Regions from separate parts of the Homo sapiens genome. Here all the other regions are linked to region 3. Evidence: promoter capture Hi-C in 16 types of primary human blood cells and fetal thymus (Javierre and others, 2016). All regions are on one chromosome and are shown on one strand. The core of a region is centred on a gene start or on the middle of the fragment in contact, and the rest is flanking DNA. Distances in the headings are between cores, read along the strand shown.

Region 1 (3,446 bases), core at 525-3,024, 1.8 Mb before region 3:
TGCCCAGGCTGGTATTGAACTCCTGACCTCAAGTGAGCCTCCTGCCTCTGCCTCTGAAAGTGCTGAGATTATAAACATGAGCCACTGTGCCCAGCCATGAATTTTAAAAAAGTAAATATAGTAAGAAAAAAATGGCTAGGTGTAGTGATGCTCACCCTTAGTCCCAGCTAATTGGGAGGCTGAGGCAGAAGAATCTCATGAGCCTAGGAGTTTGAGGCCAACCTGGGCAACATAGTGAGACCTCCAGCTCTAAAAAATAAAAATAAAAATAAATTTTAAAATTAAAAGAATTGTAATGTAATTAATTGTACTTTTAAAAATATTTTTATTTTATCTTTTAAGGCATAACATAACAAGTCTTTTGTGCACACGCCTATTTTTTGTTGTTGTTGTTTTTTGAAATGGAGTCTCACTCTGTTGCCCAGGCTGGAGTGCAGTGGCACAATCTCGGCTCACTGTAGCCTCTGCAATTGTTCAAGAAATTCTTATGCCTCAGCCTTCTGAGTAGCTGGGATTACAGGCATGAGCCACCACGTCTGGCTAATTTTTGTATTTTTAGTAGAGATAGGGTCTTGCCATGTGGGCCAGGTTGGACTTGAACTCCTGACCTCTGGTGATCGACCCACCTCAGCTTCCCAAAGTGTTGGGATTATAGGTGTGAGCCATGGCACCTGGCCTATGTCTATGTATTTTGACAAATATATACACATTTATATTACAAACAGCCCTATCAAGATGGTAGGGACTTTGCCCTGTGGTGTCACCATATGTCTTCAGGGCCACAAGCACTTAGAATAATGGATCCCATAAATTCTGCTTGGAAAATCATTATACAATTTCATGATCGCAAGAGACTTTAAAGTCACTCTAATCCACTTAAAAGGAATAATTTATAATTATTCTGTATACTGCCTTTACTGATTTTAAACTAATACCCTAATCCTAATATTTTAAGATTTGATGGAGATATTCATGTTTGTTTTTCCAAGTCATTCATCATTTAACAGATTTCAATATGTTATAAATTGTCATAAGAAAAACAAACACATATAAAACAAAACAAAAACGCTGTCTCAGAATCAGTGGTTTGCAATATGACCTAGAGGGAAAGCTAGGAAGAAGCCCTGGTTAATTTTAATTCCATATCAGGTAAGTGTCTAATGTCTAGAAAAAAGATGCTCCCCAGCCTTTCTATGCTCCTGTTCTGCTTTGATGAAATAAAGCAGAACAGGAGCATAGAAAGGCTGGGGAGCAACAAATGAAGGTCAAGGATCTAGTTCAAGCTTGGTGACTACTCTACACTTCATTTTCTTCATTGGTAAAATAAATGTAGCCATACCTTTCCCATTATCTATCACACAGGGTTATTCTAAGGATAAAATACAGAAAATAATTTAAGGATGTTATGCAACCCATAAGCTATTCTTACTGTATAATAAAATATACAACACATAGTTTGTATGTCTGCATAAGGATGTACATTGCCAGCTTTAGGAGCGAGTTGTTCCATCCCATAGCATCCAATCTTTGTTGTATATATTAATAGATTAGAAAAAATTCAAATATTGAACTAATTTGGCTGCCTATTTGGCTATATTTATTTAGATCTATATTTTATGTTATATCTAGTTACTGCCTCATCTATTATTTAGAATATCAGCTCTAACTTGGTGACATTGATTAATCAATAATGATTGCTTTATTTTTGTGAAGCCATTATTTTTTTTTTTTATTCCAGTGATGTTTCAGTGAGCTGTTCCCCCAGTGCTAGTTCAGGCGGTCAAGTCTCCTTCAAGTTAACCACATCCTAAATAGTCAGCATACCACCAAATCCAAAAGCGAGCTAAATGCACTGAGAATTGGGTAAAAACAAATCTCCCAGGATTCTGTATTCCCAGAGTGTATTCAGCCTCTCTGAGAAAAGAAAGCAACTTATAATAATTTATAATTTAGGATTATATTCTTATGAAAGGGCAATGAAATACTGAAAGGACCATTTCATTGGCACTTCTTCAATGACTCTAGAGTTTAATCTATGGAAATTATCCAGTGGAAGCTCAGAGATCCTAAAGTTTATCAAGTGAAAGAAGAATCAGAGAATACATTTGAAAAGAAGAGTTACTCTTAAGAGTAAAAAAGAGTGGTCTGCATAAATATATTTAAGAAAATGTAAGAGAGGGAGGGAGGAAAGGAAGATACATATTGTTGACATAACTAAATATAGGACTAAATTAGTACTGTATAGTATAGGACTAAATAAGCTTAAAGCATGTCAAAGTGACTTGAAAGTTAAAGTTACATAAATGCACTGTTAAGTATTTATTCCTATTTTGTCTCAGTTAAGACTAGTTGTAGCTGTAGGCAAAAATCTTTCTACTTGGACTACACATAATTTTGAGATATAGGTTAGTTACAGACATGAGAAACTATTCTCCAAATGTTAATATAATTAAATAATAGATTTTATAATAATACACTAAAACCTCACTATGTAACTCTCCTACTGTGTTATGGAATTTCTTATAGGGTAAATCCAAATGGGACACATCTGAGGATGTTTATGATCCTAAATGCCAGGAAGACTTTGTAACATACTGTAATATTTTGTAACATTGTCCTGGTGGAAATATACCCAAAAAGAACAGCCTACTTTTTCTCCAAGAACGTGACCTAAGAATAATTCTTTATAGTAATTATGAGTTAATTTTCTCATTATTTCCTAGTTGCAAGCAAACATGGAAAAAATATGAATAAAAATATATGGTATAATGATAGCTAGTATATACAGTATATAATTGTTAAACCATAGAATTAGAGTTGCTTAGTTTGGAAGTACTAGCATATATACACAAAAAGAAATTAAGGAAAGAATTTATTTGTTTACTTTGTCTCCTTTTCCCCGTTGTATCAAAAGGACAATTTTGAATAGTTACCATTTGGTAGCATCACTTTATTGTTTTAGCTAATTTACTGTGACAAGTTTTTAATCTGCTTTTTTATTTTCTTTTTCTTTATGGCTGGGAAGTTCCCTGGCACAGAGAAGATCTGAATTCTCAGTCCCATCTGCCTAATCATTATTGACTCCTGATTTGGGGTTACTTAATTCTCTAAGTTTCAATTTCCTGATTTCTAAAATAGGTATAACAATAGCTCCTTGAAGAATTATTGTGAATATTAAGTTAGAGTGTAGACGAAGGAACACAACTCAATGTCGGGTATAGTATAAGCACTTTATGAATTGTAGTTATTAGTAGTAGTTATTATTACCAAAATCAATTATTTCTGGAAAAAGTAGCCATTTCTTTTTTAACAACCTCTTAGCAGCATGGAACTGTTTTTGCAAAACATAAAATTATTATTTTTAACACACCGTGTGGGTTGTAGCAATAGGCATCCCATCTTTCACTCCTATTGAGACGGATTCCATAATCAATAATGCCAGTTTT
Region 2 (3,675 bases), core at 639-3,138, 1.8 Mb after region 3:
AATTGCCAGGGTTGAGTGCCCATTTGAGATTGGTGACTCCAGTCTACCCAGCTGTGTGATTATTTTCTGCAACGTAGAGGTGTTGGCAGGCACGGAGAAGGCAGATGATTGAGTTCTTACATGGCTGGATTTATTAAGTAAGTGATTTTGAGAAAGTGAGGGGTAAAGAAGTTATGGGAATTATATGGGAGCCATTGGAACAATGACTCACAGAATTTGAGTTGGACAAAAAGAAAGGACAGTCTAGAAGAGGCTATGTGGATAGAAAGAATTGATAGGAGAATGGATTAGATCAGGAGTCCCCAAGTCCCACATCGCAGACCTATACTAGTCTGTGGCCTGTTAAGAACCAGGCCGCACAGCAGGAGGTGAGCATCAGGCCAGCAAGCATTACCACCTGCGCTCCACCTCCGGGGATCAGCAGCAGCATTAGATTCTCGCCAGCCCTATTGTGAACTGCATATGCAAGGGATCTAAATTGTGCACTCCTAATGAGACTCTAATGCCTGATAACCTGAGTCAAACAGTTTCATCCTGAAATTATCCAATACCCCCATGGAAAAATTGTTTTCCACAAAACCGGTCCCTGGTGTCAAAAAGGTTGGGGACCGCTGGATTAGAGAACTGACATCAGTAGGAGGATCCATTGCTTCTTGGCAGATATTTAAGCAAGTGAGCTAGAAGGATAGGAGCTATGGCCAGAGACTAGAAATTAACAAGGTTTTGGAGAGGAATTGTGTCTGATAATGACAATGGCCAGGGAGTTACCATAGTAGTGATAGAAAAAATGGTCACTGGTGATGAGGTGGTCCAAGAATTGGGATGTCAAAGTATCCAGGGTGTTGGATGAGTCAATCTGTGCTGAGATAAAATTATCATAACATTTTAGGAATAATTATTATTTAATACTCTATTTCTAAAGAATTATAAATAAGAAAAGAAAAATAATAGGTGTAAGTTTAATATTATTTGGTATGAATGTAAATTTTTGCACTTTGGTGACAGAGAATGATATAGAGTACTTTTTACCATTTTTTTTTTTTAAAGCCTGTAAGGAAAGAGCGATTGTTTTTTCTTTTCTTTTTTTTTTTTTTTAATTTTTGTTTTCTTAGGCTTAACTACACTGGATTTGCCCACCTGTTTAAGAATGCAAATTAAACAAAACACTTAACTGCACTTTATTGTGCTTCATTTTAACTTAAATCAGAAGAATTTTAATCAAAGCCATACTGAAGCTTTAGGGGAAACTAAATTGTAGGAATGTTTGCAGTGATTTTAACTGGTCAAAATACATTATGTGCATTTCTTTATATTCAAAAGCAGTTATTATTAGCTACTCCTGAAATGAAGTAATAATTTTATCCTATTTTCTGCTGAACAAATACAAAGGTTAAATGGCTTGCCCAGGGGCACAAATTGAATCCGTAGCAGAAATGGGATTATAACTCCAAACTACTGACTCAAAGCTTAGTCCAATGAGCCATGCTGTTTCTCAAGTAGTAAGCATATTAATTGTTCCTTCAAGCAGGAAAAAGAACTCTAAATGGAGCATGTCCCATCCAGAAGACCTATGCAACACAGTAAAAAGACCTACTTCTTTTACTTAGTTAAAACAAACAAACAACAACAACAACAAAAAACAAAAACAAACAAACAAATAAAACCACCCCCCGGCCACAGAACTGTTAAACTTGCCTTTTTGTTAAAGAGGAAATAACTGGTATCAATTTGAAAAGTAATACAAAATAACTGTTACAGAAAAAGCACTAAACTTTATAGTTATAAAACCAAAAGAATGTCTGATATTGTTTTTCAATGCTATCATTGGACCTGGGTTACACAGAATGGTGAATTTGCTGTATCAGATAAACACCAAGATAATTCAGGCATCCAATTTACCCTTTGTTATTTAGGCTAATCATAGAAAAATAGCAATTGTACAAATTTTATTTATTATTTGAATAAATGCCTTCCTGACTCATTTCTCTTATTTCAAGTCCACCCAGGTACATAATTGTTTTTCACTCAATTTTGACTCTGTAATTTTAAAACCACAAATGAGAAGATTATTGAAAGTAGATTCTTTTTAAATTGCAAATTAAAAGTAAATAATTCTATTTCCGCTTCTGGCTATGATAGAATACTTTGTATTACATTAACTCTCCTATTATGAACAACTATTTTAAAATAATTTATTCAACAACTATTTGAAGCCACTAGAGAGGAACTAAGGAAGACAGTACTGGGGGGACAAAGAACCCAGAGAGGAGAGAAGTATATTGAATTGAGCCCCACATTCACCTAAGCTTTTCACTTTGGTACTTGCAGATACATGGCACGAGTAATAGAGGCTAAGAAGAAAGTAGCAGTCTGGGCTTATGTAGTTTCACTGGGTTAGGGAGACAGATGTTGGAGTTTGAGGTGCCAAAGTGATTAAGACTTGAGGAACTAAGGTCCAGGAGTTGAGAAAACCAAAAGGGAGTCCAAAATTCTGTGCAATATCCCTTCAAGGCAGTGCTGACTCCTCAACTATGCAGGGTGAAATGTAGAGAAATTAAGGGTAAAGGAGCAAGCTGGAGGTTAAAGAGTTTAGCCAAGATTTTGCCAATTTTGGAGACCTTGGGAACCAGAGATGGGAATTTGGGGACCACCAAGGAGGGAGAGTCCAAGTAAAATACCTCAGGATTTCAGATGAGAACTCAAGAAGACTATTCTTTGCAAAGTAAAGGCTAAGCTTTAAGATTTAGGACAAACTGGAAGTTGATGAGCCCCCTAAAATCTGAAATCCAACATGACTAAATTGGTATGATAAATCCATATATTATACGACTGATGGAGCAAGTTATATTCTTTCTGGAAAAAGATAACTTAATGGAGAGTTTTTGCAATTTTTCACAATACCCAGCATTCATTAAAAAATTACCAGCCACGTAAAACATAGGGCCAAATGGAAATGCTGTAACCAAAATTAGAAGAATTATAATAAATTAAAATATGGGTATATAGTAGATCAAGCACGGCAAAAAAAAAATAATGAATTGAGAGGAAGGACATAGTAAATACTCAGATTTAAGGATAGAGAGTAAAAAGGATAGAAAATACAGAAGAGATCATAAGAGATATGTAGGACAATTTAAGTTCTGACGTATCTGTAACTGGAATCCCAGAAGGATAGGAGAACATTAATTGAACAAAAGCAACATTTGAAAAGCTGTTGGCAACTAATTTTACAAAACTAATGAAAGAAATCTAGTCATGAATTCAAGAAGCTCCACAATCTGTATTCAGGATAAATTTGTTTATAAATACACCTAGAACATTGTAGTCCAACATCTGAAAAACAATGATAAAAATGAAATACTAACAATAGAGAATAAATACACATTACTTTCAAAGGAGTAAAAATAAGACTTAGTGCTGACTTTCCAATGGAAACTATGGAAACAATGGAATGACATCTTCAAAGTTCTGAAAGAATACAATTGCCAAGCAAGAATTCTATAATCATAAAAATATCCATCAAAAAGGAATGTTAAATAAGTATATTTTCAGACAAACAAAATTGGAGCAAGTCTGTTGCTAGTAGACTCACACTAAAAGAGAATGTAAGGATTTTTTTCGTTTTTATTTTTGTTTTCTTTTTTTTTCTAGTTTCTAGACCTAAGCTTAATGTTT
Region 3 (3,429 bases), core at 470-2,969:
CGGTTCTGAATCCATTATACACGTAACCTGGAATTGAACAATTAGGTAAATGGATGGCAGATGATGAGAGCCAGGTGTCTCACACTGGAGTGGAAGGCTACAGACAAGCAAGGGGAGAAGGCTGCAATGATCCATATGGTGCTGGAATTGAACTGAAGATAACAGCTCTAGTATTTGAACCTAGAACGCCTGTGTAGCTGTCAAAGATACAGATGGATACATATATAAATACTTACAGATATGCGTATTTAGTCAGGTTAGCATATCCACAAATATTTCCTTGCTCTGTCAGCTGAGAGTGTCTAGAAGCAACAACATCCCAAATGTCCAAATCTTGATTTCTAATATCATTTTCCATTAAAAGTACCCTTGGCTTTTTGGGGAAGCAGCTGATTCTAGGATTGGGGCAGGGAATATACAAGATGAGCCTGGAGCAACTTATAGAAATTAAGAAAATGCTCAAGAAAAAAAATCAATAAACATAAAACGAGGAGGGTTTGTCAAAAAGACACAAATGCCAACTAAAGGAAATCTCAATAGCCAAAGCTGGAACCAATATGAACAACAAAATAAAGTAGTATTGGATTATAACCCAAAATGTAAAATAAATATCCATGAGTCCATACTGACATAAATGATTGAATACATAAATAAATGCAGTACAGACAAATCTCCCATGCAGAAGAATTCCAAATAATTCATGAAGATATTCTGTCCTCATAAAGGTGGAGTATAACAATTTCCCATTCCTATAGTTTGGGCTGCACAGAGAGATGTCCTTCCAAATAGTATAGTATGGAGAGGAAAAGAAAAACAGTAACTTCACAGTGGAGAAACCTGACAAACCCTACATAGGGAGGTGGAAGGGCTTACTAGATGAAACAAAGGGGATCTTTGTAGAACTATAAAACTTTTCTGTATGACACTGTAATAATGGTGATAAAGGTTAGCATCAACAGTAATAAGTCATGTTGATAGTATATACCCTTGATGTGATGTGATGAGAAGATCACTTTACCTTACCTCTTAACTCAAGAAAAACCCATAACCTCAGTTAATGCATGAGAAAAATACAGGCAAAACCCAATTGAAGGACATTTGACCAAATGACCAATAAGTCGCTTCAAAACTATTAAGGTTATCAAAAACAAGGAAAGTTTGAGAAACGGTCACGGTCCAGAGGAGCCTGGAAGACATGGTGATGTACTCCGGACAGGATCCTGGAATGGAAAAGAATACCAGGTCGAAAACTAAGGACATCTGGAATAAAATATGGGCTTATGGGCTTTAATCAATTTTTAAAAAAGTATTAGATACATGAAAATGATACACGATTTACAAATCAATCGCCTAATATTTATCGAGCATATTGAGAGCCTGGCACTGTGGTAGGGCTGGGGACACAGAAAGAGGTAAGTGCCCTATGCTCAAAAACAGCGATTCATGAAAAATAAACAACTATGACAAAAAGAACAGAAGACTGTATCTCCTGGAGGCAGTAAGGAAGGCTTAAGTTGGGAGGACTATCAAACGCATCAAGGAGTTACTGAAGATTAACTGACCCGCCTAACGCAGGTCGGAAGCCCTCCTATCCATCCACCCAAATCACCCCTGCCCCACCTTTTCTCCTCCCTTGCGTTTACCCAATGGCAGGTCGGCTCCACGTAGGCCTACTTTGCGCGTGCGCATCATCGTTTCGACGCGCTCGGAAGCAACTTCCTTTGCCTGCTCACCGCCAGCGTAGGTGCTACCACCGCTGCCGTCGCCGCCGCCATTTTGATGGCAGGAAGAGTCCGGTTCTGGGACAGCTGGAGACAGTGGTGGTGACTGGTACGGATGGTTTCCGCCCATGTTAGCCCCTCCAAATTTGCCCGTGTTAGGGTTACAGCCCTCGGTATTGCCCGTATTTTCACTGGGTCCCTGTCGTTGTCCCCAGCCATCCTGTCCGTCTGTCTTTAGTCTCTTTTCTGCTTCCTCATCTTTCCGATCAGCCTGAAGCTTTGCTTGGAGCTGTTGTTACGCAGCCCCAACTTCTGTTAAAGCAGCCGCTTCGATCCTCTGGACTGAATTTTGGCCACCCAGCCCCCATTCCCCTCCCGGATCTGGTCCGAGTTGTTTTTCCGCGGCTGTAAACCGGAAGGGCTCTGAGCTGCACTGCCGGCTCCGGGCTGGGGGATCTGTGCCTGGCATGGGGGCGAGTTCTGGCCTCCTTAGGGTACGGGGAGAGCTTGGACTTTGGTCCTGACGTGGTGGACGACACACCTTCGAAGAGTGGACGTTACCTCAGTTGTCTGTTGTTAGAGTTTAATCGATCACTCGTCTGTTTTGTTGTGTTCTTTCCCAGAAATAACTTTACCAAAGGAAAGCTATTTTGCGAACTATCTTCTCCAGCGGAGATGGCCAATGTGAGTAAATTATCTCTTAAGAATCAGCATAGTAAACTCGTTTGGGAATGTTAGGAATGAAAGAACGGGTTTAATTATGATGGCATTGGGTGGTATAGTGTTAGATATAATGTATCAAAAATGTCAAGGGAAGCAAGTGGTGTGAAATTATGTTATGCTTTGAAGATGGTAGCATTCTTTGCACTGCAAATACACTTATTTATACAATTTCATTTGTACAGATGTGGAAATTCAAGCACCCTTTCGGTATTTTTTAAATACAGCGTTTCAGTAAATATTAGAATCTATGTTTAGGCCCTTTTTTAGCTTTTGGGTTAGCTAAACTGAAGGGTTTTTTTAATCTTTTTTTCTTTTTTTTAAAACAGTTTCCATATTGGAAGTGACCTTCTAAATCCTACAAAATAAGAATAGGAGATACTCTCACACACCAGAGATATTTATTGACTGTAACTTTGCAGTGATTAGACACATCCTATCTATAGAATTCATATGTAGCGGTCATAAGACATATATAAAAACAGCTACAATTAAAGTATAAAGTAATAATTTTTTTTAGAACCTACACGAAGGTGCAATGCAGATTCAAGTCTTTGTGGAGAGGAGTTTGGGATCACTTCATGAGGGAAACATTTAACTTGAGGTTTGAAAGATAGGTGGGATTTGTATAGTCTAAAATATGAGCGGGAAGGACAGGAAGGTATATTCAAAGAACTCCCCAACCCGCCTACCCCTTTGAAAAACTGAAAAGTGACTGCTGCCTGCCAACCTGAATGTAAGCTGCATGAAAGAGATAAGTGGGAGATAAGGTTGAATTGTGAGGTTGGTACCAAGTAAATGAGAGCCTTGAATGCCGAACTCAGTAATTTAGACTTCATTCTTTAAATTGTGATTATTCACTTAGAGCTGTGTGCTAGGAAGATTTATATGGCAGCATTTAGCCAGGATGCTATTTCTGTAATTGAACATGGTATATTAAGTCTAAAGTGTGACTATAGAGACAAGTCATAAGAATAGATTACTAGTC
Region 4 (3,298 bases), core at 464-2,963, 1.8 Mb before region 3:
ATTTTAACACGTAAGTCTCATTTTTACTCATAAATAGCTTCTGAAGTTCTGAGATTAATTTCTGCAAACAAAAGCAATTAATTTACCAAACAGACTCTTAGAAAAAAAAATCCAATACCAAAGTCTAGGAATAATTTTCAAAAACTGATTCAACCAAATAGTTTTCTCCATAATAAAAATATTACCCCACCCAAGGCCAGGTGCGGTGGGTCAAGCCTGTAATCCCAGCACTTTGGGAGGCTGAGGCAGGAGAATCACCTGCCTCGGCCTCACTCTTGAAGTCAGGAGTTCAAGACTGGCCTGGCCAATATGGTGAAACCCTGTCTCTACTAAAAACACAAAAATTAGCTGGGCATGGTGGCAGACGCCCATAATTCCTGCTACTCGGGAGGCTGAGGCATGAGAATTGCTTGAACCTGGGAGGTGGAGGTTGCAGAGAGCAGAAATCGTGCCACTGTCCTCCAGCCTGGGCGACAGAGCAAGACTGTCTCAAAAAAAAAAAAAAATTTTCCCAAAAGACTCCAAAAGGAAAACTGAAGCATATAGCAAATCCGAGTGAGTTTTTACAGTAAATGCTCTAATACAAACACTCAGATTCTACCATTAACACTTTACTATGTTGGTCTTATCACCTATCTGGCCATCCTACCATCCATCAATCCAACTTTTTTTTTCTACCAATATACTTTACCCTAAAAATGTCAGCATGCATATCATTAACTAGTTTAAATGACACTGTATTTTTTCACAATAATGAAAAAATACATTAATAGCTTCATAATCAACAGACACGTGAAATAATTTTTAGCTCAAATTTATATAAAGAATTTCATATATGCTTTGTTGCAAGCTTGATAAATGGGTTAAAGAAAGAATTTTATGGTCAGGCGCAGTGGCTCATGCCTGCAATCTCAGCACTTTGGGAGGCCGAGGCGGGCGGATCACAAGGTCAGGAGTTCGAGACCAGCCTGGCCAATATGGTGAAACCCCATCTCTACTAAAAATACAAATATCGGTCGGGCATGGTTGCAGGTGCCTGTAATCCCAGCTACTCCTGCTGAGGCAGGAGAATCGCTTGAACCCAGGAGGTGGAAGCTGCAGTGAGCTGAGACTGCGCCACTGCACTCCAGCCTGGGCAACAATTGCGAAACTGTCTCGAAAAAAAAAAAAAAATTATATATGTCACTAAAATTGAATTCATCAGAATAAAGCTATTTATGAGACACTCGAGTTACTGTGTCATACTGAACATTACCACGAAGTCTTCTGCATTTTAAGCAAGTAAAATCCCAGGTTTTAGGGGCTGGGTGTGGTGGCTCACGCCTGTCATCCCAACACTTTGGGAGAGTGAAGTGGGAGGATTGCTTGAGCCCAGGAGTTCGAGACCAGCTTGGGTAATATAGTGAGACCTTGTCTCAAACAAAAAACAAAACAAGACCTTCAAATATGGCTTTCCATGTAATCTAGAGTAAAAATCCATCCTTACAATGGTCCCTGCCATAGTCCTATGTGATTGGGCCCTCTTTTCCTCTCACTCTCATTCACTCCACTACTGTCATACTGCCCAGAGTTCCCAGAACACCAACCAGGTACACAACCATTAGAGCAGGGCCTTTTGCCCTCATAGTTCTCTTGTCTGGTTCTTTATCTACATGGGTAACTCCTACTCTGCCTTCAAATCACTGTTCAAATGTCCTTTCCTTTGCCTTCTCTGACCACCTTACATTCCTTTCTCACAGCACTCTCCGGTCCTTGCTCTTCTCCTTAGTGGTCTTCACTTACTACACTATGTACTTAATTATCTCTCCCACAAGAAAATAAGCTCCATCAAGCCTCTTTTGTTCACTGCTATATTCACAGCGCCTGCAACAATGCACTGCACATATCAGATGCCCAGTAAATATGTTAGAACAACAATGGTTAGAAAACCTAAAACCTGTGGCAAGTAATAACTAGAAAACTATAGAGACTAGGTAAGTTTATGTACATTAAATTTGTATCTACTGGGATTATACAGTAACAACCCAAACATGAGTCAATCAGTTAATGCTCTCCCTCTTTCAGAAATACAATTCCTATTTCCTATTTATTGGGAATGAAGTAAAATGTCTGGATTTTAGCAACAATAGATAGCTCCCTTCCTTACTACTATGTAATGAGCAATGTGCCTTTGCTAACTTATGCAACTCTTAAGGTTTTGATTCAAAGCTAAAATCCTATATCATAGTGCAACTATACCAATATGCCCAGACAGATTTTTTTTTTTTTTTTTTTTTGAGACAGGGTCTCATTCTGTCACCCAGGCTAGAATGCAGTGGTGAGATCATAGCTCACTGCAGCCTCAAATTTCTGGTCAAGCAACCCTCCCGCCTTAGTCTCCCAAGCATCTGAGACTACAGGCGCATGCCACCACGCCCAGCTAATTTTTAAGATATTTTGTAGAGATGGGTCTTCACTATGTTGCCCAGATGGGTCTGGAACTCCTGGCCTCAAGCAATCCTCCCACCTCAGCCTCCCGCTTTGGGACTACAGGTGAGAGCCACCGTACCTGGCCACCAGACTGAATTTTAAGCTTAGTGCAGAACCTTCCGATGCAGTATCCAGAAAATTCTTACATAAAAGAACACTCACAGTAGTCATAAGCTGCTCCGTAATAGATGCTATTTCTTGCTGTTTCTGAAGCAATAATGGCATTCCCATCTCCAGAGCAGTTGCTCCCCGCAAATGTACCTTTTGTGCTGAATGAACCACTAAAGGTATGACCAGTTTTGCCCACCTCACTGCCTCTTCTCCCATTTGAATTGGGGCTTGTTCAATTAGCCTATAATAGAGAAATCAATGAATAATTAGCGTGACCTCATGTTTTAAGTCTAAACAAGCAGTAAAATAGGTGAAACAGAAATATACACAGTACGGCCCATTTGTTTTAGAATATATACAAATATGCATATACACACAAGAAATAGATCTTATTTTTACGAATTTGCACATTATTGCTTTTGTAAATTTTTTTTAAAGAACCAATCTTGTCTTTAGATTGAAACATTTCAGTCATCCCTCAGTATCCCTGGGGGATTGGTTCCAGGACCTCACAATAATGCTCAAGTCCAATATGAAAAGGACAGTATTGTCATTCACCACAGAGCAACGTTTTGGTCAAAGATGCAGCACATTCACAATGGTGGTCCCATAAGATTATGAGGGACCTGACAAGTTCCTATCACCTAGTGACATCATAGCTGTTGTAACACTGCAGTGCAATACATTATTCATGTTTCTGATGACACTGGTGTAAACA
Region 5 (3,325 bases), core at 648-3,147, 1.9 Mb before region 3:
CACTTTGGGAGGCCAAGGTGGGTAGATCACTTGAGGTCAGGAGTTCAAGACCAGCCTGGCAAACATAGTGAAACCCCCTTCTACAAAAAACACAAAAATTACGGTGCCTGTAATCCCAGCTACTCGGGAGGCTGAGGCAGGAGAACTGCTTGAGTCCAGGAGGTGCAGCTGCAGTGGGCCGAGATCATGCCCCACCTGCACTCTGGCCTGGGTGACAGTGACACTGTATTTAAAAAAAAAAAAAAAAAAAAAAGGATACAATTTTCTTAAGTGTTCCTAGGACGTATGGACCACTGATTGAGAAAATACTAAGTTCAGAAAGTTAACTTTCTGAAAATAATAAGTTCAGTAACCACATGACTCAGCAATTCCACTTCTAGGTATATATACAAGAGAAATGAAATCATCTATCCATATAAAAACTTGCAGACACAGCAGCATTATTCGTAATAGCAAATGGTGGAAACAACCCAAATGTCTGTCAACTGGATAAACAAAATGTGGTATATACATATAATGCATATTATTCAACCAAAAAAAGTCCAGGACCAGATGAATTCACAGCCGAATTCTACCAGAGGTACAAAGAGGAGCTGGTACCATTCCTTCTGAAACTATTCCAATCAATAGAAAAAGAGGGAATCCTCACTAACTCTTTTTATGAGGCCACCATCATCCTGATACCAAAGCCTGGCAGAGACACAACAAAAAAAGAGATTTTTAGACCAATATCCTTGATGAACATTGATGCAAAAATCCTCAATAAAATACTGGCAAAACGAATCCAGCAGCACATCAAAAAGCTTATCCACCATGATCAAGTGAGCTTCATCCCTGGGATGCAAGGCTGGTTCAACATATGACAATCAGTAAACGTAATCCAGTATATAAACAGAACCAAAGACCAAAACCACATGATTATCTCAATAGATGCAGAAAAGGCCTTTGACAAAATTCAACAACACTTCATGCTAAAAACTCTCAATAAACTAGGTATTGATGGGACGTATCTCAAAATAATAAGAGCTATTTATGACAAACCCACAGCCAATATCATACTGAATGGGCAAAAACTGAAAGCATTCCCTTTGAAAACTGGCACAAGACAGGGATGCCCTCTCTCACAACTTCTATTCAACATAGTGTTGGAAGTTCTGGCCAGGGCAATCAGGCAAGAGAAAGAAATAAAGGGTATTCACTTAGGAAAAGAGGAAGTCAAATTGTTCCTGTTTGCAGATGACATGATTGTATATCTAGAAAACCCCGTTGTCTCAGCCCAAAATCTCCTTGGGCCAATAAGCAACTTCAGCAAAGTCTCAGGATACAAAATCAATGTGCAAAAATCACAAGCATTCATATACATCAATAACAGACAAACAGAGAGCCAAATCATGAGTGAACTCCCATTCACAATTGCTTCAAAGAGAATAAAATACCTAGGAATCCAACTTACAAGGGACGTGAAGGACCTCTTCAAGGAGAACTACAAACCACTGCTCAATGAAATAAAAGAGGACACAAACAAATGGAAGAACATTCCATGCTCATGGATAGGAAGAATCAATATTGTGAAAATCGCCATACTGCCCAAGGTAATTTATAGATTCAATGCCACCCCCATCAAGCTACCAAGGACTTTCTTCACAGAATTGGAAAAAACTACTTTAAAGTTCATATGCAACGAAAAAAGAGCCCGCATTGCCAAGTCAATCAGAAGCAAAAAAGACAAAGCTGGAGACATCATGCTACCTGACTTCAAACTATACTACAAGGCTACAGTAACCAAAACAGCATGGTACTGGTACCAAAACAGAGATATAAGCCAATGGAACAGAACAGAGCCCTCAGAAATAATACCACACAGCTACAACCATCTGGTCTTTGACAAACCTGACAAAAACAAGAAATGGGGAAAGGATTCCCTATTTAATAAATGGTGTTGGGAAAACTGGCTAGCCATATGTAGAAAGCTGAAACTGGATCCCTTCCTTACACCTTATACAAAAATTAATTCAAGATGGATTAAAGATTTAACTGTAAGACCTAAAACCATAAAAGCCCTAGAAGAAAACCTTGGCAATACCATTTGGGACATAGGCATGGGCAAGGACTTCACGTCTAAAACACCAAAAGCAATGGCAACAAAAGCCAAAATTGACAAATGGGATCTAACTAAACTAAAGAGCTTCTGCACAGCAAAAGAAACTACCATCAGAGTGAACAGGCAACCTACAGAATGGGAGAAAATTTTTGCAATCTTCTCATCTGACAAAAGGCTAATATCCAGAATCTACAAAGAATTATTCAACCTCAAAACGGAAATTTTTGAGGATAAACCTTGAAAACATTATGCTAAGTGAAAGAAGCCATTCACAAAAGATCACAAGTTGTACGACCCCACTTTTATGAAATATCCAGAATAGGCAAATCTATAGAGGAAAAGTAGGCATTGGCTGGACAGTGGAAATGAGGAGTGATAGCTAATGGGTCAGTGTTTCTTCTCTGGGTGATAAAAAAAAAGATTCAAAATTAGATCATGGGGAATATTATTTAACTCTGTGAATATATTAAAAACTAACTGCACCCATAGGGTAGGTGAATTTTACACGATGTAAATCATATCTTAATGAAGCTGTTAAAAAAAACCTAATTCTCATAGACTTTCCCAAGACCCATGGAAACTGAGTAAGAAAATACTTTAGAAACTAAATTCAATCTGTGAGACAGAAAATTACTAGTAGTATTGGTTTTCTGAGTAACCAGTTAATGAATGTTTAGAAGATCACAAATAAGTTAATATAAAATCAAGGACCTTCAAGAATACAGCAGAAGTCTTCAGTGGCTGGCAAACCCCAGGTCTGAGAAATTCTGATTCAGAACACTGCTTATTCTATTTTTCATTTATTCAAAACTTCTGATACAGGTTGAGTATGCCTACTCCAAAAATGGAATCTTTTTTGGATGGAATGGAATCCAAAATTTGAAGCTTTTTGAGCACTGACATGATGCCCAAATTCTCTAATGAGCGTTTTGGATTTACAGATTAGGGCTGCTAAACTGGCAAGTAGCTGCATAATGCAAATATCTCAAAATCGAAATAAATCTGAAGTCCAAAACATTTCTGGTCCTAAGCAATTCAGATAAGGAATACTCAACCTGTAGTGTCAATGGATAGAGGGTCTCTGAATGGGTTTCAGTAGTCTGTGAATCCTTCTGAAATTATATACAAAATTTTCTATATAGTTTTACAGCAGGGAAGAATCTTAGCTTTCATCAGAATCTTGAAAAATGCCCATGACCCAAAATGTTCATATGCACAATACTG
Region 6 (3,480 bases), core at 146-2,645, 1.9 Mb before region 3:
TGTCAGGAGACTGGTTACATACAAGTGAATGATCAAGTTGTAAATACATTGAGGGTAATGAAAACCAGGTTTCTCACTATTAGAGACAGTAGAGAAAAATACAGAAAAGGAATGAATAGCATAATCCATGTGATATTAGATGGTAAATGAAAGTGTATCTAGAGAAACAAGCAATAATTGTGCCACAGTAAGTATTTAGTAATTAACCTTACAGTGGAAAACCTGGCAGATGCCATCCTCAAACAAACAGGAAGTGTTAACATCACCAGTAATGGGAAAATAATGAATTGAAAAAGAACTACAGCATTATTTCTGTGGTACTCCAGTAATGAATGGACCCTGAATCTAATCTTAAAGCAATATGGTAATCCCAGATTGAGAGACTCTAAGAAAGTAAAATTGCCTTTTTTTTTTTTTTTTTTTTTTTGAGACAGAGTCTAGCTCTGTTGCCCAGGCTGGTGGAGTGCAGTGGCATGATCTCAGCTCACTGCAACCTCTGCCTCCTGGGTTCAGGAGATTCTCCTGCCTCAGATTCCCAAGTAGCTGGGACTACAGGCGCGCACCACCATGGCTTGCTAATTTTTGTATTTTTAGTAGAGACAGGTTGTAGCCCTGTTGGCCAGGCTGGTCTAGCACTCCTGACCTCAGGTGATCCACCCACCTCGGCCTCTCAAAGTGCTGGTATTACAGGCGTGAGCCACTGCACCCAGCCTAAAGTTGTTTTTTGAAAGACATAAAAGACAAGACTGAGGAACTGTTCCAGGTTGTCAACTTGTCTAAAACTATACCTTAAAATGGTTCAGAAGGGAAAAAGAATAAAATGTATATTCTGGGGGGAGGGGGGAGCAGATAAGATAAATGCAATCAACCATTAATTGAGAAACCTGAGTAAAGGAATACGAAGTTTCCACATAAACTCTTGCAGTATTTCTCTAAATTTGAAATCATCACAATGTAAGTCACCAAAAAATCCCAAGGTGATCCTGATAATAACAATTTCCTTTCGGTTAGTCTTAACATTGTTTCCTCTTCTCAACTTCTTTTAAAAATCTCCCCATTACCCAAATTTTACAGCAAGAGAACTCTGGCTCTGTTTTGCATGGACACGGAGTGGAAAAGACATTTGTAACTGTGGGTTCCTGAATTGGATATTCGGTTAAATCTAATTTCAGAAGTACCAACATAGGTAAAATTATGTCAAAATGAGACTGATCATCTTCGCTCTATGAAACTTCAGTGGCTTATAATTTCTGACATCATCTGTTATATAATCTTGGTAAACTTATGATTTTCAGAGATAAGCCTATTTTTCTGACACACTGAGGTAATCATATTAGGTCCTGGTCAGACCAAGAGGAGAGCTAAGATCAGTATGTCAAGAACATCTATAACCTATATTTCCACGGCACTCAGGCCGGGATGCTCTGACCTATAATATACTTCAGGAGCTTAACATGTTACTCCATATTGCTACTTAGTAAAAATTCAAAAACCAAAAAAGATTCTAAGAATGTTTTAGAAAACTCATCAATGGCAAATCTTATTGTTAGATAATTTTATGTCCCTAATCTTTAAACAAGAATAATATATCTCAACATCAACTAACATTTTTCATTAATGACAGATTATCACTACCTATATGGTAAGAACATATAAACATAGGTGGATATATCTGACTTCAATGAATCAATTAACAGATTTTAAAAACTATTTGCTACAAAATAACTTAAAACTAACCAAGGCATATGGTTTTAAAAATCACGCAACTTGTTATGATCCCAATTGTCCAATTTTAATCATTTAATTACCATGTTTCAGGTAAACGATGAGTTAAACTTTGTAACATTTCTGGAAAAAAATAACCAATTAACTGATCCCATTGTTTTCTTTTAAATTATAATGTCAATTCAATGACTATTTTAAATCAGGCTTGCAAATAAAAACATTTTAAGTTATGTCTAAGTTTCTTGTCCAGGTAATCCTTCATACCAGATGGAATGAGTAAAACCATTTGTACTATTAGGCAATCTCTAATTAGAATAGTATTTATCTTTCTGCGTTGTAAAAAGGAGTAAAGAAATTTTGTGTGATAGAGATAAGAGAATGATACAGAGCATATGAAAATTAAAAAGAAAAAAGAGAGAGAACATGTATGAAAGCTCCTAGCATAGTAACTAACATGGTTAAACAAGATCAAAAGTTAGTAAAATGAGGTGGCAAAGGTATTAGGACTTCCCCTGGCAAAGTTCAGTACTGCTTATGAAATACTGGACAAACAAAGGTTAAAAAATACATACTTACATTTAACTTTGGGCTGATATTTAATATTATATGGTGAGAAGTCAATGCAATCAACCATTACAGTAATAATATAAATAATTCTATCCACGAACAACAAATTCTAGGGAAGAAAGTACCACTGTTAGAAACATTCAAGTACTGGGACAGTATTCAACAAAAGTAAGCAACATGAAAAAATATAAGACTGTTACTCCCATATATCCTATGTAACACACATGCCACAGCTTACAGTACATTAAGTGCAGCCACCCACGGCTTAACAGAGATCCACTGTGAAAAATGGGTCATCAGGCAATTTCATCTTGTGAGAACACAGTGTACCCACACAAACCTAGATGATACAGCCTACTACACACCTATATAGTCTGTTGTTCCTAAGCTACAAACACATAGCCTAGGCACCTGTATAGGTGTGTAGTTACTATACTGAATACTCTAGGCAACTGTAACAAAATGGTATGTATTTGTGTATCTAAGCATCGAAAAGACACAGTAAAAATACCGTATTATAACGTTCTGCTTAGGATATGTAGCACTAGATTTGCGGTCTGTTGTTGACTGACACATTGTTATGAGGCGCATGACCATACATGATTACAAATCTTTTTCAGTTAACTGCTGAGTCAAACACTGTACTTTCTCTTCCTCAATATTTAAGAAAAATAATTCACTTTTAAGATCCCCATAAAAGCCATCATATCAACCAATAAACTGAGATTGGAAATACTAGGATCACAGATTCTCTATCAAATTCCTCTTGAAAATTATGAAGTAAAAGTTTTCACTAAACCCAGTGGAAACAAAACATAAAAAGAAGTTGCTGGCCAGGACTGGTGGCTCACGCCTGCAATCCCAGCACTTTGGGAGGCTGAGGTGGGTGGATCACCTGAGGTCTGGAGTTCGAGACCAGCCTGGCCAACATGGTGAAACCCCGTCTCTACTAAAAACACAAAAATTAGCCAGGCGTGGTGGTGAATGCTTGTAATCCCAGCTACTCGGGAGGCTGGGGCAGGAGAACTGCTTGAACCCGGGAGGCGGAGGCTGCAGTGAGCCGAGTTCACACCATTGCACGCCAGCCTGCGACAGAGCGAGGCTCCGTCAAAAAAAAAAAGAAAGAATTATTGCTCAGGATGGTGTTTTTAAAGACACATTTGACACAAATTTTCAAGAAGGTGTAAT
Region 7 (3,358 bases), core at 266-2,765, 1.8 Mb before region 3:
CTGATCCCCTGATCGACTTTTCAAGAATTAATACATGGCCAGGTGTGGTGGCTAATGCCTATAATCCCAGCACTTTGAGAGGCTGAGGCAGGCAGATCACTTGAGGTCAGGAGTTTGAGACCAGCCTGGTCAACATGGCGAAACCCCATCTCTAATCTCTACTAAAAATACAAAGATTAGCCGGGCATGGTGGCACGCACCTGTAACCCCAGCTACTCGGGAGGCTGAGGCAGGAGAATCACTTGAACCTGGGAGGCAGAGGTTGCAGTGAGCTGAGATAGTGCAACTGCACTCCAGCCTGGGCAACAAAGTGAGACTCTGTCTAAAACAAACAACAACAACAACAACAACAACAACAAAACAGATAATAGACGAAAAAACTTTTTTATAATTATTTCATCCTATCACTAGTTCATATATAATGAATATACATAGCTAATAACATGCCTTATGACTAGCATGAAATTGTCTATCCTTACTTTCAAATTTCACAGTGTCATCAAATTGTATTAACTGGCCAGGCATGGTGGTTGGCGCCTGTAATCTCAGCACTTTGGGAGGCCGAGGCAACCGAATGATTTGAGGTCAGGAGTTCCAGATCAACTTGTCCAACATGGTGAAACCCCGTCTCTACTAAAAACACAAAAATATGCTGGGCACAGTGGCTCATGCCTATAATCCCAGCACTTTGGGAGGCCGAGGTGGGTGGATCACCTGAGGTCAAGAGCTCAAGACCAGCCTGGCCAACATGGTGAAACCCCATTTCTACAAAAATACAAAAATTAGCTGGGCATGGTGGTGCACACCTGTAATCCCAGCTACTCAGGAGGCTGAGGTGGGAGAATGGCTTGAACCCAGGAGGTGGAGGTTGCAGTGAGCTGAGATCGCGCCATCACACTCCAGCCTGGGCGAGTGACAGAGCGAGACTCCATCTCAATAAATAAATAAATAAACAAAAATTATCTGAGCATGGTGGTGCACACCTGTAGTCCCAGCTACTCAGGAGGCTGAGGCAGGAGAATCGCTTGAACCCAGGAGGCAGAGGTTGCAGAGCTGAGATGGTGCCACTGCACTCCAGCCTGGGCAACAGAATGAGAGACCATCTCATAAAATAAGAAAATAAAAGATAAAAATAAATTGTATTACTTAGGCACAGTGGCTCACGCCTGTAATCCCACCACTTTGAGAGGCTGAGGTGGGCAGATTGCTTGAGTTCAGGAGTTCGAGACCAGACTGGCCAATATGGTGAAACCCTGTCTCATCTCTACTAAAAATACAAAAGTTAGCCGAGTGTGGTGGCCAGCGCCTGTAATTCCGGCTACCTGGGAGGCTGAGGCAGAGAATTGCTTGAACCTGGGAGGCGAAGGATGCAGTGAGCTGAGATCATGCCATTGCACTCCAGCCTGGGCAACAGAGTGAGATTGTCTGAAAATAAAATAAAATAAAATAAAATAAATTGTATTAACCAAGCAGAGCTTTAGTCCTTTAACAGACCAAAGGCCTTATCTAGACAAACAGTTTCACTCTCTCCATTGAGTTGGGCAGAGAGTTCCTATCATTTATGGCCAAACTACTTTTTAGGTGCGAAAATTGAGTCCTCTTGAGTTCATAGTGTAATGACTAAACCTGGAGCTTGATTGAGAAGGTTTGAATCCTGGCTCTACCACTTATTAGCTATGGGACTAATGTGTGACTGTGGCAAGTTACTTGACCTCTTATGCCCCTGTTTCCTTATCTGTAAAATGGGGGTAGTTGCACTAACCTCATAGGCTTCTGAAGAGTATGTAAGTTAATACATACATGGAATTTGCTAAGAACAGTGTGTGGGCATGTGCTATAAATCTTCAGGAAAATGTTAGCCATTCAAACATTATTTCTTGGGTTTAAATAGAACAACACATTTCAAAACCATGAATCCTTCTAAATAAAGAAGCATTTTTCAGGCCGGGCGCAGTGGCTTACGCCTGTAATCCCAGCACTTTGGGAGGCTGAGGCAGGCGGATCAGAATCTCAGGAGTTTGAGACCAGCCTGGCCAACATGGTGAAACTCTGTATCTACTAAAAATACAAAAATTAGCCAGGCATGGTGGCAGGCACCTGTGATCCCAGCTACTCCGGAGGCTGAGACGGGAGAATCGCTTGAACCCAGGAGGTGGAGGTTGCAGTGAGCTGAGATCGCACCACTGCACTCCACCCTGGGCAACAGAGCAGGACTCCATCTAAAAATAAAAATAAAAATAAAAATAAAGAAGCACTTTTCCATTGAAATGGGTTTCCTAGACCACATTAAAAATATGGGACACTCATGCCTGTAATCCCAGCACTTTGGGAGGCCGAGTCGGAAGGATTGCTCGAGCCCAGGAGTTTGAGACCAGCCTGGACAACATAACAATACCCTGTCTCTCTCTTTTTTTTTTTTTTGAGACGAAGTCTCGCTCTGTCGCCCAGGATAGAGTGCAGTGGCATGATCTCAGCTCACTGCGACCTCCGCCTCCTGGTTTCAAGCGATTCTTCTGCCTCAACCTCCCAAGTATCTGGGATTACAGGCATGCGCCACCATGCCCGGATAATTTTTGTATTTTTAGTAGAGACGGGGTTTCACCATGTTGGCCAGGCTGGTCTTTAATTCCTGACCTCAGATGATAGGCCTGCCTTGGCCTCCCAAAGTGCCGGGATTACAGGTGTGAGCCACCATGCCTGGACTTCCCTGTCTCTTAAAAAAAGGGACTACAATCTATCAGTAATAATTTAATGTTATATTTCTGAAAGTGTGGTTCTGGGATCATTGCGTCAGAAAATCCCAGGTTAGCTTCTTTATATGTAAATATCTGGACCATACCTCTCAGGATAAGCCTACTAACCTACATTTTTGATATGCAGTCTAAATTATTCTTGGCAGCACCAAAGTTTGAGATTCCTGCTATGTTCAAGGCACACGTTTTCTATAACTTTGATAAAATAGTTCAACTATTAAATTTATTGTAATTGGAATACAAATATCAGTTTCCAAAAGAACCCAACTATGTATGGCACAAATTCTTTGTCTCCATCTAAAATATATTCATGGAGAGAAAACAAAAATTTTCAGAAGTTCAAGAGCTACAAAACTATGAAAACTGAACCTTGAGGAGCCAAAAGGGAAGCCTAACTCATTGTTATGCTCAGGCCTTCTGGAGAAAGAACATAATCACGCACTTTAGAAAAATGATCCAGTTTGAAGCTGGGTGCGGTGACATGCACCTGTAGTCCCAGCTACTCAGGAGACTGAGGTTGGAGGGTCCCTTGACCCCAGGAGTTTGAGGTCAGCCTGGACAACATAAAAAGACCTAATCTCTTTGAAAAAATGAAACAAAATAAA

What was found. The method cuts DNA at HindIII sites, captures the fragments that hold promoters and counts their contacts. A CHiCAGO score of 5 or more calls a contact.
Region 1: a contact is called between a fragment that was not itself captured here and the fragment with the promoter of MMADHC in region 3, in 9 of 17 cell types (naive CD4 T cells, naive CD8 T cells, monocytes and 6 more). The highest score is 9.9, in naive CD4 T cells.
Region 2: a fragment that was not itself captured here is called in contact with the fragment with the promoter of MMADHC in region 3 in 1 of 17 cell types (naive B cells); the score reaches 7.8 in naive B cells.
Region 4: a fragment that was not itself captured here is called in contact with the fragment with the promoter of MMADHC in region 3 in 9 of 17 cell types (naive CD8 T cells, total CD8 T cells, naive CD4 T cells and 6 more); the score reaches 17.7 in naive CD8 T cells.
Region 5: a fragment that was not itself captured here is called in contact with the fragment with the promoter of MMADHC in region 3 in 1 of 17 cell types (total B cells); the score reaches 5.1 in total B cells.
Region 6: a fragment that was not itself captured here is called in contact with the fragment with the promoter of MMADHC in region 3 in 3 of 17 cell types (total CD4 T cells, total CD8 T cells and naive CD8 T cells); the score reaches 11.1 in total CD4 T cells.
Region 7: a fragment that was not itself captured here is called in contact with the fragment with the promoter of MMADHC in region 3 in 12 of 17 cell types (naive B cells, total B cells, naive CD8 T cells and 9 more); the score reaches 16.5 in naive B cells.

The regions. Positions count from the first base shown.
Region 1 is chr2:151,366,142-151,369,587 of GRCh38, reverse strand. TNFAIP6 (TNF alpha induced protein 6) reads right to left here. Exons shown (of 6, transcript NM_007115.4): 3 at 3,371-3,446. MIR4773-1 (microRNA 4773-1) reads right to left here and starts at 1,254; the gene lies at 1,177-1,254. MIR4773-2 (microRNA 4773-2) reads left to right here and starts at 1,177; the gene lies at 1,177-1,254. All of the region lies in intron 2 of LOC101929319 (a long non-coding RNA gene), which reads left to right. The HindIII fragment of the contact is 978 bases long and covers 1,286-2,263 here.
Region 2 is chr2:147,834,121-147,837,795 of GRCh38, reverse strand. No RefSeq gene overlaps it. Among named protein-coding and RNA genes, the nearest start is that of ACVR2A, 9.1 kb to the left of the region's middle. The HindIII fragment of the contact is 840 bases long and covers 1,469-2,308 here.
Region 3 is chr2:149,586,065-149,589,493 of GRCh38, reverse strand. MMADHC (metabolism of cobalamin associated D) reads left to right here and starts at 1,719. Exons shown (of 8, transcript NM_015702.3): 1 at 1,719-1,830; 2 at 2,345-2,405. The coding sequence starts at 2,397. MMADHC-DT (MMADHC divergent transcript) reads right to left here and starts at 2,136. Exons shown (of 3, transcript NR_110240.1): 1 at 1,644-2,136. RefSeq lists enhancers at 1,673-1,992, 1,309-2,508. The HindIII fragment of the contact is 5,011 bases long and covers 1-2,000 here.
Region 4 is chr2:151,419,713-151,423,010 of GRCh38, reverse strand. RIF1 (replication timing regulatory factor 1) reads right to left here. Exons shown (of 36, transcript NM_018151.5): 7 at 2,632-2,821; 8 at 1-61. Among named protein-coding and RNA genes, the nearest start is that of RIF1, 11 kb to the right of the region's middle. The HindIII fragment of the contact is 1,722 bases long and covers 853-2,574 here.
Region 5 is chr2:151,470,221-151,473,545 of GRCh38, reverse strand. All of the region lies in intron 34 of RIF1 (replication timing regulatory factor 1), which reads right to left. Among named protein-coding and RNA genes, the nearest start is that of RIF1, 62 kb to the right of the region's middle. The HindIII fragment of the contact is 2,183 bases long and covers 806-2,988 here.
Region 6 is chr2:151,450,527-151,454,006 of GRCh38, reverse strand. RIF1 (replication timing regulatory factor 1) reads right to left here. Exons shown (of 36, transcript NM_018151.5): 21 at 2,302-2,401. Among named protein-coding and RNA genes, the nearest start is that of RIF1, 42 kb to the right of the region's middle. The HindIII fragment of the contact is 5,678 bases long and covers 1-3,480 here.
Region 7 is chr2:151,398,481-151,401,838 of GRCh38, reverse strand. No RefSeq gene overlaps it. Among named protein-coding and RNA genes, the nearest start is that of RIF1, 9.7 kb to the left of the region's middle. The HindIII fragment of the contact is 8,122 bases long and covers 1-3,358 here.